Regions from separate parts of the Homo sapiens genome. Here region 1 is linked to region 2. Evidence: promoter capture Hi-C in human tissues and cell types (Jung and others, 2019). All regions are on one chromosome and are shown on one strand. The core of a region is centred on a gene start or on the middle of the fragment in contact, and the rest is flanking DNA. Distances in the headings are between cores, read along the strand shown.

Region 1 (3,975 bases), core at 1,384-3,883, 320 kb before region 2:
GAATGAAATCAACGTTAATCTAAGCTGCTACGGAAAGTCTGTCTTTGTTGTTGCTGTTAGGCTGGGGGCGTGGATCTGAGAGTCGTGTCGTCAGAACTCCTGAATCCCTGTCCTGCTACTGCTGCCAGCCCCTGGTGGCTTTCAGGCCGAGCAGGCGAGGTGGAGGGAAGAGATGAAAGTGAGAGGAGGCGAGTGGCAGGGAGCGGAGAGCGAGAGGTCCCAGTGCTGAGGCAGCTCACGGGTCCCAGCTCCCGCGGTCAGTGCTCTCCAGGGAGAGGCTCTTGGTTTTTCGGGGTGAAGCTGGGCTTGGGGGGCTGCTTAGGTTGGAACTGTTGGAAGCTGTGGAATGCCTCGGAGAGTCAGAGTCCTGTAAGGCCCAAAGTAAAACATTAATGAGAAGGAGGGGGAGAAAGGGAGGCAGAAGGGGCTCAGATTACCACCGCCCCCTCCAGCCACCCTGACCAAATAACCCCATGGGGCGGCCTCACTGTCGGTATAAAGCCCCTTCTATGAGCTGAGGAAGAGGCACGGAACATACAAGCTCCGTCCTTTCTGTAGGCCTTTACAGATGATGGTATTTTCACACAAAAGCCAGAAGTCTGAATGCCTCTGGGAAAACTGCAGTTTGCAGCCCGAGTGACTGGCCTAGCTGCCCGCTGGCCAAGAGTGAATGCTGGCCCCTGACCCCGAACCCTGCTGCAGCTGAGGCCAATCCCAAGGTGGTGGGATTGCCTGGGAAGATGCCCTAGTCTTTCTGATACATGACGTCTCCGGAACCCTGCCCACTCACCTCTCCGTCAAAGTCCCTCGCTGGGGCATCACTTCCTTGGTCCATGCCTCCAGAGGACAAAGAGCCCTCTGACGGGGAGGGCATGGGCTGCCGCTTGGCACTGTAGCTTCCTCCAGAGAATTCCCTCTTTAATGCGCTGCCATTCTGTGCGGATGACCCTACAGTACATCATGCAGGCAAAATTTTACATATGCAGAGGGGACAATACTCTAGAAAGCACACAGACTGCTGAGCTGACAGGCCATCCTTTGCAGGCCCCAGACCACTCCTCCCCTGAAGCGCAGTAAGTCCAACTGTAGTACCTTTGCCCTGAGCTCAACCCCGAATCCAGCAATCTCACTCGCTGTTCCTGTCCACCCCAGCCACGGGGACTCCCGGTGAGCGAGCACTCTCTAGGCTGTGCCATCTGCCCCAATGCCCTGCTTGTTAACAATTCCCCAGAATCCCTCAAGTCTCCACCTGCCTGGTGCTGCCTTGCACATCTTTCCCAGCCACTGACGGCTCCCAGCCATCTTTCACACATCTCTTTCATGGCATTTATGAAGTCATGTTATCATCATGTGCCTGTCATTCTCCCAATAGATGAGGTGTCTTTGCCTCTCCAGGGCCTAGCACAGAACATGGCACACGGCAGGCTCAAAACAGATGCGCTAAATGAGGAAGCTCGGTTGTACCATCCCGAGAGAGGCCATGCCACTCAATGAAGAAATATCGCTTATCTTCTAGAAAATTTTCATAAAACCATAAAGAAAACATAAAAGTACTTTTACTTCACAGGGCAAAGAGCCTGAGATGTAAAATAAAAGTGAGGTTTTCTTCAAACTCACTCTCTATTTTGTTCTCAGAGTTGGGGTAGGTAACAGTGGACCAGCAGCATTCACAGGAAGAAAAGGGAAGACCCAGAACACCCTGGGGAATCTCGGGGCTATTGTCAGTACCTATTTAAAGCTCTTAGCATTCCCTACTATGACAAGGTTTTTGCTTAAACATGCCTTCATCGTGCTGAGTTTCAGTATTAGGATGATTGGTCCAAAAGACTGTGTTGAGGTTTTAGCACAACTCTAAGGTACAGGTTGTGCTTGTTTCAACTTTTTGCGGGTTTAACATGTCTCAATTGTTTTTCACATTAAGAATTCAGTGAAAAATGTCAAAAAATGATAGTTTAAAGCAGCACATTTATCTAATGACCACCAAAATACACAAGCGTTCATAAATAAACTGAACAAGAGCCTGCCTGGGCAGACTCTGTCCTTGGTAATCCCCCTTCCACCTCCCTTCCTCAGCTTCTTTGCGAAGCCCCTGGGCTGCAGTCACAGGCTCGCTGGCATTTCCTCGACACTGGAACTGACTGACTGCAGATCAGCAACACTGGTGGTTTACTGTTTAGCGTATGATGGAGCTTGACAAACACCAATGCCCAGCCCTATCCCAGAACAATTTGCAGAGTTTCTGACTTAACTTTAAAAGTCCTCCTGTCATTTTTGCACATTGATTTTGTAACCTGAGACTTTGCTGAAGTTGCTTGTCAGCTTAAGGAGATTTTGGACTGAGATGAAGGGGTTTTCTAATACAATCATGTCACCTGCAGACAGAGACAATTTGACTTCCTCTCTTCCTATCTGAATACCCTTTATTTCCTTCTCTTGTCTGGTTGCCCTGGCCAGAACTTCCAATACTATGTTGAATAGGAGTGGTGAGAGAGGGCATCCTTGTCTGGTTGCAGTTTTCAAAGGGAATGCTTCCAGCTTTTGCCCATTCGGTATGATATTGGCTGTGGGTTTGTCATAAATAGCTATTATTTTGAGATACGTTCCATCAATACCTAGTTTATTGAGTTTTTAGTATAAAGGTGTTGAATTTTATCAAAGGCCTTTTCTGCATCTATTGAGATAATCATGTGGTTTTTGTCACTGGTTCTGTTTATGTGATGGATTACGTTTATTGACTTGCGTATGTGGAACCAGTCTTGCATCTCAGGGATGAAGCCGACTTGATCGTGGTGGATAAGCTTTTTGATGTGCTGCTGGAATGTTTGCTAGTATTTAATTGAGGATTTTCGCATCAATGTTCATCAGGGATATTGGCTTGAAATTTTCTTTTTTTGCTGTGTCTTTGCTAGGTTTTGGTATCAGGATGATGCTGGCCTCATAAAATGAGTTAGGGAGGAGTCCCTCTTTTTCTATTGTTTGGAATAGTTTCAGAAGGAATGGTATCAGCTCCTCTTTGTACCTCTGGTAGAATTCGGCTGTGAATCTGCCTGGTCCTGCCTTTTTTTAGCTGGTAGGCTATTAATTACTGCCTCAATTTCAGAACTTGTTATTGGTATATTCAGGGATTCAACTTCTTCCTGGTTTAGACTTGGGAAGGTGTATGTGTCCAGGAATTTATCCATTTCTTCTAGATTTTCTATTTTATTTCTGTAGAGGTGTTTATAGTATTCTTTGATGGTAGTTTCTATTTCTGTGGGATCAGTGGTGATCTCCCCTTTATCATTTTTTTATTATGTCTATTTGATTCTTCTCTCTTTTCTTATTAGTCTGGCTAGCGGCCTATTTTGTTAATCTTTTCAAAAAACCAGCTCCTGGAATCACTGATTTTTTGAAGGGTTTTTCGTGTCTCTATCTCCTTCAGTTCTGCTCTGATCTTAGTTATTTCTTGTCTTATGCTAGCTTTTGAATGTGTTTGCTCTTGCTTCTCTAGTTCTTTTAATTGTGATGTTAGGGTGTCGATTTTAGATCTTTCCCGCTTTCTCCTGTGGGCATTTAGTGCTATAAATTTCCCTCTAAACATTGCTTTAGCTGTGTCTCAAGAGATTCTGGTATGTTGTGTCTTTGTTCTCATTGGTCTTAAAGAACTTATTTATTTCTGCCTTCATTTCGTTATTTACCCAGTAGTCATTCAAGAGCAGGTTGTTCAGTTTCCAAGTAGTTGTGCGGTTTTGAGTGAGTTTCTTAATCCTGAGTTCTAATTTGATTGCACTGTGGTCTGAGAGACTTATAATTTCCATTCCTTTGCATTTGGTGAGGAGTGTTTTACTTCCAATTATGTGGTCAGTTTTAGAATAAGTGTGATGTGGTGCTGAGAAGAATGTATATTCCGTGGATTTGGGGTGGAGAGTTCTGTAGGTGTGTATTAGGTCCGCTTGAACCAGTGTGCAAAAATCACAAGCATTCCTACACACCAAT
Region 2 (3,990 bases), core at 1,361-3,860:
TAAAGTTATTACGTGTAGACATTCTTGTATCAGTGGTTTACCTGAGAAACTAACTTTGAATAAATTTCAAATCCAAAAAAAAAAAAAAAAAAAGACACAATCAGCACTTGACTTTTACTTCAGGAAAATAAAGTTTTACTTGGGAACAGATATTTTAGCATAAGAACTTAGCATAAGAACAAACTAAAATGATTAGTATTCCAAAGGTACAAAATCATATTTGGCCAAAATCCTTCAAAAGCCAACGTACCACTACTACAGACAGATCTGGGTGACGATGCGTGCTTATTGCAACAGTGAACTTCTGGACCTTAGAATGTGCCCTGTATGTAACAGCAGACGCTGAAGAACTTGAGCCAAGCCTTCAAGCTTGAAGGTCATGGAGCGTTTGCTCACATCATTGATCTATTCCACTACAGTAGGTCTTCTAAATCACATCTATATTTAGAAGAATGAAGCCAAAAACCTAACCAGTTTAGATTTAAATTAACTTTCGAGTAAAATCTAACTCTCAAGTGGAAGCTGCCCCCAAACATTCTCTAACTACTATCACAAGATTTTTAAACTATGTCATTTAATCTTACAAACATAATTTTTGGAAAGTCCATGTTTAGCAGTTTCCTTTCCTTGTACTATGTAGAGATGAAATAAAACCCACTGATCACCACCTTCAGCTTTCTGTTGACCTAAGGCAAACACAGATATTTTAATATCTCCTCCTATTTTGAGAATAATTTCCATAGTCTGAATGTTTCCACCAATAAATACCTTTCAAATGAAGGACTATTATAGTGCCATGTATTAGGCAACTGTAACCAATAATCCACTTTTGCCCATCACAGAATTGATTTAAAATCTCTTACTGTTGACCTAAAAACATAAGTTCTTCATAGCCAAGTTCCACATTAGCTAGGCCTTAAATCAAGGCAACAATTGAGCAGCACAATTCTACTCCTGGGAAAATATTTACCAAAAACTAGCGGAAAATCTTGAATAACTAGTGTCTGTTTTTTTATTGTATTTTTTCTTTGAACGGAGTAGAGTTTACTCATAACTCTCTATACCAATTAAATCATAATGACCAGCTAAAGATTAACAGTTTCTTTAAAAATTACAAACTTACCCCATTCTAGGTATTCGAGAATGTTCTTCTCTCTTCTCAATGGAGAATTATTGCATTCATCATAAAGGCAGATGAGTATATCCAGTAATGTCTCCACACTGAAGCACTGCCCATTGGTCTGAGCGGGCCCGTCCAAAATAAACTGCTCCAACTGCCTCAAACGCACTTCTCCAGACATGTTTGCTTCGATTTCTGCTGGTTTTCCTTTAAATTATTATGATGACTTTTACTATTATCTGAACCTAAATTTTAAAAGGTATGGTTTTAAAAATAAACCACTTGTTATTCAAACAACTGTCATGCAATGCTGGTGCTGAATTAAACATCCAACACACCAGTAACCTCACTTAACTGAAGCGTCTTCAATTTCACCCATATACATATATTTTGAGGGTAAATTACCATAAAATATATACTTAATGCATTTTTAAAAGAATACAATTAAGTCGTATATTTAAATAAAATAATAATTAAAAGTACAACGAACTAGAGAGTCAACACTTCTTTAAAAAAAAAAAAAAAAACTCTTCTCCTTCATTCAAAATTCAACTCGTGCAACGTAATCCTGAAACGAATCCGGTTGCATCATTAATGAATAAAGTCCGATTTGCATCAGCAATTCACTTCCCGGGAAGAAGAAAAACAGAAAAGGGAGGAAAAAAACAGAATGCATAGAAGGGGGAGGGAAAACCAAAAATGTTGCTGCAAATCCTCCCAACCACCACTTGGATAATGCATCAGCGGCAATTTCTCCAGCGGGAAAGGGAGGGGGCGAGGTCCCTGAAGCAGCCCCTCGGCTCGGAGCACGCCAAGTCTTGCCCGGAGGCGGCTTTTCGTTTCTCCTCCCGAGGTCCTTCTTTCTTTAAGGCTTTGCAGTCAGTCCTATTTTCAACGGATTCCGGTGAAAACTCTTCATTTTCCTCCCGGCTTCACCCTAGGGCCTGACCGGCGGCGCGGCCGGGGGTGGAAGGCGGGCTGCGGGCGGCACTGGCACCGGGCTCCGGAGAAGCGGCTACTTGGCCGCCCGAGCCCACTCCATGTCGGTGGTCGCTCGTGGGCCGAGCCGCGCCGCGCCGCGCCGGGCAGAGAGCCCGGTCTCCCCGACACCCGCACCGGGCCGCCGCGCCGGAGGCTCCCGACGCCCCAGGCGGGGGGGTGCTTCTCTGAATTCAAAGGACACAAGCAGCAGCAGCTGCGGCGGCGGCGCGGGCGGCTCTGGCAGCTACTTCTCCCCCTTCTTCACACCCCTGGGCTAAGGGCATCTTTCCACAGCGAGGAGGGAGGCGGCCCGGCGCAGGAGGAGGGGTCGCTTCCGCGGCTGAGGAGACTAGAGGCTGCGGCAGCCCGGCTCCCAACCACTCCCTTCCTCTCCCTTCCAGCCCTCCCCCGCCTTCCCTCTCCTCTCGCGCTCGCGCCCTGGGCTCAGCGAGGCTCCTCCAGTCCCGCCGCACAGAGGCGGAGGCTTGCGGACGAGTCTGGATCCAATATGGCGGCCTGGCCCCCCGGCCCCGGCACACGCGCGCGCACACGCCCTCCACTCCCCGCCCCCGCCCTGCCCGAGCCTCAGCCCCAGCCGGCGGCCAAGCCGGGCGGGGTCCGGCCGGCGCGCCCAGCGGAGGCCCCCAAGGGGGCGCGGGCTCGGGGCCCGAGTGGCTGCGCCAGCCCGAGGGGAGGGGTGTGGACTGCCTAGGCGGCGAGGCTGCGGCTGCCGCAGCGTGGAATGCGGAGCTGCGGGAGGGCTGAGGGAGGCCCGGGCGGCGGTGGCGGAGCATATGGAGGCGGGATGACCGGGCCGCGCCGGGAGCTGCGGCGGGACTGGGCGCAGGCTGGGAACTGCGCCACCGCCGCGCCGTGGCCCCGGCTCCCCGAGGCTTCTGGTGCAGATCGCGAAGGGGGGCTCCTGCTCGTCCTCGGAGACATCACCTGTCTGGCGCGTTTGTTAAGGGCGCCCAGAAGCAGAGGGCTTTAGGCTTCCGACAGAGCTGGAGGAGACGGTGCCTTTCAGCCCCTTACCTGCTCCCCACCGGCCCCCCAGATTCGGTTCGCGCACACTCCAGAGTAATCGTTTCTTAGGTGTCTAATTACAGCACTTCGTGTGTCATTTCCCAGGACAAAAACAATGACAGACTTGTCCGAGCTACCATCGAAGTCTTGGGTCTGCACGCAAAGGATGGAATCCCCCATCTCCATTCCCAAAAGTTTCCCTACGGGAGCCTGGTGTTGTCTCCTCCGGAACTGTCCTCGCGGCTGCCTGTTTTTCCCTAGCCATGGTTACTGCCTGCGGGGGATTCAGCCTGTGAAGGCAGTCAAGGCAGTTCACCACTGTCATCAAACCTACACCCCTGTGTGCATGCGCACACACACTTGTAACCCAGTGGCACAATGCAGGAATTAGGGAAGCAAAGGCAAATCGCTGAATAGCTAGGGCACCTGATCCCTGTAGGGCCCTTCCAGGTTTTTGTGAATCTCGGTTTTAGGAGAGCTCCCTTTATAAAATTCTCATGGAAGATGCCACATTTAAATTAACACCACAAAACTAGGTCATTGCAGTTCTGTTACTTTCTCTCAAAATTGCCATCTCCTTTATGGTCGTTCTCTAAAATACAATTATTTTATATTCCTTCCCCACACCTGTGAGGCGGTTGTGTTTCTATGTTCATGTCCACAATTGCATCTTACATCTTGATAATATGGAAGCTGAGGAAGAATTAGAAATGAGGGCCTAGACGTAAAATGAAGGCTAACAGAAGTCGATTCAAGTTGTGATTCATGAAATAGTGTGAATCTTTTATGAAATCTACAACGTCTACACTTGCCTGGCTTAAGAACAGCATTATTTTCAATGCGGTCTTGACATGAATGATACT

What was found. The method cuts DNA at HindIII sites, captures the fragments that hold promoters and counts their contacts. A contact is called where the count stands out against the background at its distance.
Region 1: a fragment that was not itself captured here is called in contact with the fragment with the promoter of CDC42BPA in region 2 in 1 of the 25 tissues and cell types used here (dorsolateral prefrontal cortex).

Annotation. Positions count from the first base shown.
Region 1 is chr1:226,994,033-226,998,007 of GRCh38, forward strand. It overlaps CDC42BPA (CDC42 binding protein kinase alpha), which reads right to left. Exons shown (of 37, transcript NM_001394014.1): 36 at 791-948; 37 at 1-367. The coding sequence ends at 236. Among named protein-coding and RNA genes, the nearest start is that of COQ8A, 56 kb to the left of the region's middle. RefSeq lists a silencer at 637-783. The HindIII fragment of the contact is 5,082 bases long and covers 93-3,975 here.
Region 2 is chr1:227,315,882-227,319,871 of GRCh38, forward strand. It overlaps CDC42BPA (CDC42 binding protein kinase alpha), which reads right to left and starts at 2,611. Exons shown (of 37, transcript NM_001394014.1): 1 at 1,124-2,611. The coding sequence starts at 1,301. LOC124904531 (a long non-coding RNA gene) reads left to right here and starts at 2,711. Exons shown (of 2, transcript XR_007066911.1): 1 at 2,711-3,117; 2 at 3,233-3,990. The HindIII fragment of the contact is 8,280 bases long and covers 1-3,990 here.